3 separate regions of the Homo sapiens genome follow, and regions 1 and 3 are each linked to region 2. Evidence: promoter capture Hi-C in 16 types of primary human blood cells and fetal thymus (Javierre and others, 2016). All regions are on one chromosome and are shown on one strand. The core of a region is centred on a gene start or on the middle of the fragment in contact, and the rest is flanking DNA. Distances in the headings are between cores, read along the strand shown. Region 1 overlaps GSK3B-DT (GSK3B divergent transcript). Region 2 holds the start of B4GALT4 (beta-1,4-galactosyltransferase 4). Region 3 holds the start of NR1I2 (nuclear receptor subfamily 1 group I member 2).

The links. The method cuts DNA at HindIII sites, captures the fragments that hold promoters and counts their contacts. A CHiCAGO score of 5 or more calls a contact.
Region 1: a fragment that was not itself captured here is called in contact with the fragment with the promoter of B4GALT4 in region 2 in 1 of 17 cell types (total B cells); the score reaches 5.0 in total B cells.
Region 3: the fragment with the promoter of NR1I2 here is called in contact with the fragment with the promoter of B4GALT4 in region 2 in 10 of 17 cell types (erythroblasts, M0 macrophages, monocytes and 7 more); the score reaches 15.6 in erythroblasts.

Annotation. Positions count from the first base shown.
Region 1 is chr3:120,098,760-120,101,459 of GRCh38, forward strand. The region is part of intron 1 of GSK3B-DT (GSK3B divergent transcript); the gene reads left to right. Among named protein-coding and RNA genes, the nearest start is that of GSK3B-DT, 5.0 kb to the left of the region's middle. The HindIII fragment of the contact is 4,151 bases long and covers 1-2,700 here.
Region 2 is chr3:119,239,628-119,242,327 of GRCh38, forward strand. It overlaps B4GALT4 (beta-1,4-galactosyltransferase 4), which reads right to left and starts at 1,251. Exons shown (of 8, transcript NM_003778.4): 1 at 1,223-1,251. The region is part of intron 3 of B4GALT4-AS1 (B4GALT4 antisense RNA 1); the gene reads left to right. RefSeq lists silencers at 938-1,417, 2,068-2,117. The HindIII fragment of the contact is 11,429 bases long and covers 1-1,953 here.
Region 3 is chr3:119,780,750-119,783,449 of GRCh38, forward strand. NR1I2 (nuclear receptor subfamily 1 group I member 2) reads left to right here and starts at 1,352. Exons shown (of 9, transcript NM_003889.4): 1 at 1,352-1,551. The HindIII fragment of the contact is 6,406 bases long and covers 1-2,552 here.

The DNA of each region.
Region 1 (2,700 bases), core at 194-2,693, 860 kb after region 2:
GTAGGATTTGAAGATGAAGAAAGAAGAGGGGAGGTAAATTACTTTCCATCACTTCAATTTCAACCCATCAGATAAAACCTCTCTTTAGTAAACCTGCATGTGGGTGGAGCTGTAACAGCAATTAAGGACAGTGTGACTCTGTTCTTCTGACTTTGGGAAAACCAGTTTGGCTGGAACAAAAAGCTGATAGAGAAGACTAATGGAAGATAAGGTTGAAAAGGTAGGTTTGAGGGAGCTTTGTTACAGGAAAAAAAAAAAAAAAAAACTGGGCTTTGTCCTGTAGACAGTGGAGAGGTACTTTAGCAGATGTAAGACATTACCATTATAGGAAAGCCTCTGAAGTAACATACACTGTGGTTTTTCCTGTTGCTGAAAATATGCCCAGAGTAACAAGATGTGGCATAGTTGGTTATGTGTCTTATAACCAGTGAGGTGTGCCCAAATGGGAAATTAATGAATGACTACCCAAAAAGAAGAGGGAGAGTGTTTGAAACACTGTCACTGTGAAATAGACTGGTTGTATGAAAAGTTGCATATCAAGCCTTTGGCAAATTATATAAATACTCTGATTTTGACATCTTAAAGGAGTATACTATAGAAAATAAAAGAAAAACACTTGAATCTGTTACAGGAAACGGGTCATGATCCAGACCCCAGGAGAGGGTTCTTGGATCTCACACAAGAAAGAATTCAGGGTGACCCCACAGTGCAAAAGTCAAAGCAAGTATTAAGAAAATGAAGGAATAACAGAATGGCTACTACATAGAGCAGCCCTGAGGGCTGCTGGTTGCCCTTTTTTTTTTTTCCTTTGAGATGGAGTTTTCGTTCTTGTTGCCCAGGCTGGAGTGCAATGGCGTGATCTCGGCTCACCACAACCTCCACCTCCCAGGTTCAAGCAATTCTGCCTCAGCCTCCCGAGTAGCTGAGATTACAGGCATGCGCCACCACGCCCGGCTAATTTTGTGTTTTTAGTAGAGTGAGGGTTTCTCCATGTTGGTCAGGTTGGTCTTGAACTTCCGACCTCAGTTGATCTGCCCGCCTTGGCCTCCCAAAGTACTGGGATTACAGGCATAAGCCACCGCACCTGGCCTGGTTGCCCATTCTTTATGGTCGTTTCTTGATGATATGCTAACCAAGGAGTGGATTAATCATGCCTCCCCTTTTTGGACCACATAGGGTCTAAACTGTCATGGCACATTTGTAAACTGTCATGGCACTGGTGGGAGTGTAGCAGTGAGGACGACCAGAGGTCACTCTCGTCGCCATTTTGGTTTTGGTGGGTTTTGGCCAGCTCCTTTACTGCAACCTGTTTTATCAGCAAGGTCTTTAAGACCTGTATTTTGTGCTGACCTCCTATCTCATCCTGTGACTTAGAATGCCTTAACTGACCATCTGGGAATGCAGCCCAATAGATTTCACCCTCATTTTGCCCGGCTCCTGTTTAAGATGGAGTTGCTCTGGTTCACATGCCTCTAACAAATCCTTTTAGTTTTTCATGCTTGTCACATGTTTACTTCTAAGGGTATAATCATGTGGTTTACTATATTATTACCGATTAGATTATTTTGAACTACTTCAATTTTATTTATTTTACCTCATTTCCATTCACATTTTTTGAAAAGAGCTTTTTTATACAAGAGTGTAAATATTTTCACATTGAATAAATGAATTGAAAACAGTATGTGTTGATTGAATACTTGAAGTATACTTCTTTACAGCAAATTCTAGGAATTCAGCTTTGTTTTATGTGCATTAAAATGTAATAAATATAGGCCTGAGAAATTCTCAGAACAAATATTTTAGGCCCTCAGTAGCTGTAAATCGGGAACGGTCAGATTTCCTTCACATGGAAATGGGACTCACATCTCTCAGAATGGAACAGAAGTCTTTTGGTCTTTAATCTATGTCATGTTGATGGGAAATGTGAAAGCTACAAGAAAATTGGTATTTGGTTTCTTGGATATTGAATATCCTTGGCCAGGGGTGCAGGGAAGTGAAAAAAAAGTAAGACCTCCTATGGATCATCCAAAAAGGAATTTCAGAATGCAGAGAGGACTGGTCTCCCTTAATCAGGCCAAAACTTTATTTGAATTGTATCAGGATGCTTCATTCCTGTGCCCTGTAGGATGGAATCTTGAAAGAAAATGGGAAGGAATGTACAAAGCCTCAAGGAATGTGTTTCTCTGTAACATCTAGATCAGACAGTAGTATGAAGTGCCAGATATGAAACCAGAAAGGATCCTTATGAGAGTTTATAGCTCAGTTTTAAGATGTTTTACTATCTCTGCTGTCTTATTTTTTTATTTTTATTTTTAGAGATGGGGTCTCGCTCTGCTGCCCAGGCTGGAGTGCAGTGGTGTGATCATAGCTCACTGCAACCTCAAACTCCTGGGCTCAGGTCAACCCTCCTGCCTCAGCCATGCCCTGCCACTGCCCCCTTCCCCCGCAGTAGCTGGGGCTACAAGTGCATGCCACCACACCCAGCTATTTTAATTACTTTGTAGAGACAGGGTCTTGCCATGTTGTCCAGGCTGGTGCTGTTGTTCTTTATTTTTACAATGTATATTGTGTATGCACTAGTAGTGTTCAGTACTTGAAGATAAAAGTAGTAATTTAGGAAAAATAACCATTATTCCCCTAACTAAATCTTGCTACTCTTAGGACCAGTTAGGAGTCTTAGGAAAATATCAACTCTGATTG
Region 2 (2,700 bases), core at 1-2,500:
TCTATCCACTTCCCCTTAGATTATGTAGTCAAACAGTTCAATCCAGGTCAGTACTTTTTCACAACGTATGTTTTCAATCTGATCAAAGCTATAGGTAGACGAAAGTTATTGCAATTTCATGGGGTTTACAATTTCCATAAAGAACAAACCTGCTCTAGAAGACAAAATTCCAAAAACTTCTGAACTATATCCAATCAAGCATTATCTCCTCTCCCAAGAGAGACCTTCCAGCACTCCCCGCCTGGGTCTCGGGAATAGCCCTCCCTTCTGAATCCCAGTTTCTCAATCCGGACCCTGAATCCTATTCATCCTGATCTCTCCTTGATTTTCTTGCATCTTAAAGGTGTTATTTTCCTTTCTTTAAAAATTTAAAAAAAAAAAAAAAAGCCACAACTCGCCTCCACGCTCAGATTACCATTTTCTTTTTCCTCCTTTTCATCACCAAACGGCTGAGGAGGTCTACCAGTACCCTCACCACCGCCACGTCCCCATCCCTCACCCACTCTGGAACACTTTGCAACAGTGTGCACACCCACCCACTGTTGATAACTACTCTCCTAAGGCTACCAACCCATAGGCCTCTCCTCGATGCAGAGTCCTTTGGACTTTGTCTGTTTTTTTTCAAACCAAGAATTAACAGCCCTTATCTAATGGAAGACAGAACATCAAGGGATACAGATCAACAAACACTGGATGGCTGTCTCCGAAGTCTTTTATAATCCAGGTGACCAACCCCTTTGGAGAAAGGTCAAAGGTCGCCGGCCCCTCGCAGGACTGGGGCTGGTGTCAGCTGATCAGTTTCCCCGTTGAAACGCTGGAGAAGGAGGGTTTCCAGGAAGAAGGGGCTTTTTCAGGTTGATGCACCCGGCGGAGAAGTGCTGGGGGCGACCCCGGAATCGTGACCTGGGGTATGAATGAGCCCTGGATTTTTTCCTACCCGGCAGCACCTCGTCTGGCTCCCCCGGCCCGCAGCAGAGGCGGCGCCGCGCGGAACGCCAGCACCTGAGCCGGTGCCTCCCGCCAGGCTCGGCCTCCGTAGGCCCCCGGCCCGGCCCACCGCTCCGGCTGAGGCGGGACTGCCCCACGGACGCCGCCACGTCATCCCCACGCCCGCCCCGCTACAGCCCTGGGACTGACCCCGGCCGTCGCCCGGCTACCCTCGCACGGCGCCCGTGTCCAGGGAACTGCATTTCCCGGGCGCCGGCGGAGCCAGCGTACTCACCCCGGAGGCGGCCGCGGCGAGCTAGCACTGCCCGCGGAGAGGGGAGAACGCGGAAAGCAGCTCGGGGACCGCCCCAGCCGCCCGGGAGGCGGCTCTTGAGTACGAGCTCCGCCTCCCGCCTTGGCCGGAGAGGCTGGTCCGCCCGGCTCTGCACGCGCCTGGCGCTCCACCCCCGCCAAATCGACCACACCGGGCGCTGGAAGGAGCACCGGGAGGGAAACGGAGGGTTGACGCCTCGGCCTCTGGGTGGCTTTAAAACCCTGTGCCAATAGTAGACTGGGTGCTGAGCGCTTCCCAAATTCCATCCCCTTAAATACTCACAAAGCAGTAGGAAAGAGATAGGGACCCTTCCATTTTACAGAGTGGGAAACTGAGACTTTAGAGAGGCTAATAAACTTAATCACCCTGCGAGATTTCAGCCCTCTCAACTGCAAAAATGATAATAATAATAATAATATTTTTCCCATGTTGCAGGTCTGAGAATATTAAATGATTTTTTTAAATCCGTATTTCTTCAAAGATATTATTACAGAAAGCAAAGACAATTATATTTACACTAAAGATTTGAGTGAAAAATTATGGTAGGCTCTGTTTAGGCAGTCAGGATAGCTAGATTCTCTAATGCAGTCTCCCACTGCACTCACGGGAAAGTAGTAGATTCTCCAAGAACCACACATCCACTCCACCCAAAAAGGAACAAACCATAGCTAGAGCCAGTGCTGGGCTCATTAAGCTTCATAGCAGGAAATCTGAGGCTATACTGAGGCCGCATAGGCCCAATGTAGGCCCTTGGAAGCTGGAAAAGAGGGCCACCTAGTGGCAGTTGAGGATAGGTCAGTGAAATAGGTCAACACTGCTCCTGAACAAGGTCCAGTGTGAAACTTATTTTTTTGTGTTCCCTTTGTAACATGCTGTAAGGGTGTATAACCACATTTAGTGAAAAAGGACATTACTGGATTTCATCCAGTGGCGTTATACAATCAGTTACTTATACCCACATAGTCCCCAGGTCTTGAGCATATGATGCCTGGAAGCATAATATATACCTTTTGCAAGAATCACTCAGCTTTTCCCCTCCCCCTCCCCCTCTCTGTCTCCCTCCCCATCTCCCTCCCCCCTTTGCACGGTCCTCGTCTCCCCTTTGCATGGTCTCCCTCTGATGCCGAGCCGAGGCTGGACTGTACTGCCGCCATCTCGGCTCACGGCAGCCTCCCTGCCTGATTCCCCTGCCTCAGCCTGCCGAGTGCCTGGGATTGCAGGCGCGCACCGCCACACCTGACTGGTTTTCGTATTTTTTGGTGGAGACGGGGTTTCGCCGAGTTGGCCGGGCTGGTCTCCAGCTCCTGACCGCGAGTGGTCTGCCAGCCTCGGCCTCCCGAGGTGCCGGGATTGCAGACGGAGTCTCGCTCACTCAGTGCTCAATGTTGCCCAGGCTGGAGTGCAGTGGCTTGATCTCGGATCGCTACAACCTCCACCTC
Region 3 (2,700 bases), core at 102-2,601, 540 kb after region 2:
TGTAATCCAATACCTCCTAGCCCTAGCAGAATCCCATGTGGATAATCAGAAATGTGACTGGAAAAAGGACAGAGCTCTATGGCTGTGGGTCCCAGTCCCCACTGCTGGCAGTAAGTCCCCAGCAGTGAGCTGTGTAAGCACCTTACATTCTGCGCTTGGTTGAAAACAGCAAGGCAAGCATCCACTTGAGAAATGTCAACCCCTAGGAAATCCCAGCCTCAAGTCTTTCTCATCCCTTGGGAAGTGCAAATTGGATAGAGAAGAAACCAATTAAAAACAAAACAAACAAATCATACTTAGATATTCTGGCTTTTCTCACCAGGGCTGGATTAAAGCATGTACTTCAAAATAATAACAACTTAAGTCAATAAATAAATGTAAGGAAGTCCAAATGTTCACCTGAAGACAACTGTGGTCATTTTTTGGCAATCCCAGGTTCTCTTTTCTACCTGTTTGCTCAATCGTGGTCTCCCTCTCCCTCTCTTGTTGGGGCCCATGCCCCTGCTTTACTGTTGCCAGAGGCTTGTACTTGTTTGCCTTTTAGGTAGGAGCAGTTACTTCCACTCCCCTCACCTGCCATAAAGCATCTTTATAAACAAAGCAAGTAGAAGAAACACATCCTGGTATCCACCACATTCGGCTTTTGTTGATTCTGTTCACTTGGGAGCACCTGCTGCTAGGGAATAAGAAGGTTGAGGCTGAAGAGTGAGGACTCTTCAGCTCCCCTCTGGCAGGACCCGGGAGAGGAAAGAGCCCTCAGCTGGTCCATCCTCCCCACTCCTGGTCAGCCTTCTGTTCTGAGATCAAAGTGGTGGGGTCACATTCTCGAGAACTGTGCTCAGCCCCCTCATCTCACACCCTTTCCCTCTCCCTGTGTGCCTGCCCCCCTCTTACATAACCATGCTGGTGATTGGCACCGTCATAAATCAATACTTTGCTCACTTTCACATCAAGTAACACTATCCAGGGAGGTGGTTTCAACAAAGGAGGAAGTATAAGGAGATCTAGGTTCAAATTAATGTTGCCCCTAGTGGTAAAGGACAGAGACCCTCAGACTGATGAAATGCACTCAGAATTACTTAGACAAAGCGGATATTTGCCACTCTCTTCCCCTTTTCCTGTGTTTTTGTAGTGAAGAGACCTGAAAGAAAAAAGTAGGGAGAACATAATGAGAACAAATACGGTAATCTCTTCATTTGCTAGTTCAAGTGCTGGACTTGGGACTTAGGAGGGGCAATGGAGCCGCTTAGTGCCTACATCTGACTTGGACTGAAATATAGGTGAGAGACAAGATTGTCTCATATCCGGGGAAATCATAACCTATGACTAGGACGGGAAGAGGAAGCACTGCCTTTACTTCAGTGGGAATCTCGGCCTCAGCCTGCAAGCCAAGTGTTCACAGTGAGAAAAGCAAGAGAATAAGCTAATACTCCTGTCCTGAACAAGGCAGCGGCTCCTTGGTAAAGCTACTCCTTGATCGATCCTTTGCACCGGATTGTTCAAAGTGGACCCCAGGGGAGAAGTCGGAGCAAAGAACTTACCACCAAGCAGGTATGGTTTTTCTTTCTTTCTCTTTTGCTGGGGGCTGACCGCCCTTCAGCTCCAGCCAAAAGATGTGTGTGAACACAAATATACCTTCTGTTTGAGGTCAGCATCATAGTGGGTCGTGAATCATGTTGGCCTTGCTGCTGTCTCCTCATTTCTAGGGTGGAAAAAAAAAAGCATGAAAACAATCACTTAATGTTGAGCCCCATTACTGATGCTCTCTGGTCCTGCACTAGCCTCCTAGAAAAATCACCACAGGAGAAGCCTTAACTACTGCATGAGTTACCACAAGTCACACATACAACCAGCTCCCTGTTACAGGGCTGGAGTCCCTGGACCCAGGAAATACCACCTCCAAGGACTGTGGGAGCTGGGGACTATGGGAACTGGGATCAACTCAGTCCTGATTCCTTTTGGCCTGCTGGGTTAGTGCTGGCAGCCCCCTGAGGCCAAGGACAGCAGCATGACAGTCACCAGGACTCACCACTTCAAGGAGGGGTCCCTCAGAGCACCTGCCATACCCCTGCACAGTGCTGCGGCTGAGTTGGCTTCAAACCAGTGAGTTTTCTACCTCTACTATTGAAAGGGCACCTTGTCCCACAGAACCGAGTCTTGCCTGCATGTGGTCAGTGCCACCAGGTCCTTCTTCTCTCCACTTTACAGCCCAGCTCGGCTGAAGCTATGGCCAGAGGCACTGCTTTAAGGCCACTCCATATCTAGGACAGGTCAACAGACACCTCTGAGGCCACTGAGTCTTGACTCAATGAATCAGCTATAGCAGGCACTATTCCTCTCCCACATGGCCTCTAATGATATGGTCAGAGTTGAAAGGATGCTAAGGGAGGCCTCAGAGGCTTATTTAATCAGTTGGTTAATGGGAAAAAGTATTTTGTGGTACACAAATACGCTTTAAAAATATTTTAGTTATGTCATAAAAGTCTAAACCTGGGGTTGACAAACTATGGCTCACAGGCTAACTCTGGCCCACCAGCTGTTTTTATAAATGAAGCTTTATTGGAACACAGCCATGCCCATTCGTTATGTATTGTATATGGCTGTTTTTGCCCTACAACATCCTTTCAACTCTGGCCATATCATTAGAGGCCATGTGGGAGAGGAATAGTGCCTGCTATAGCTGATTCATTGAGTCAGCAA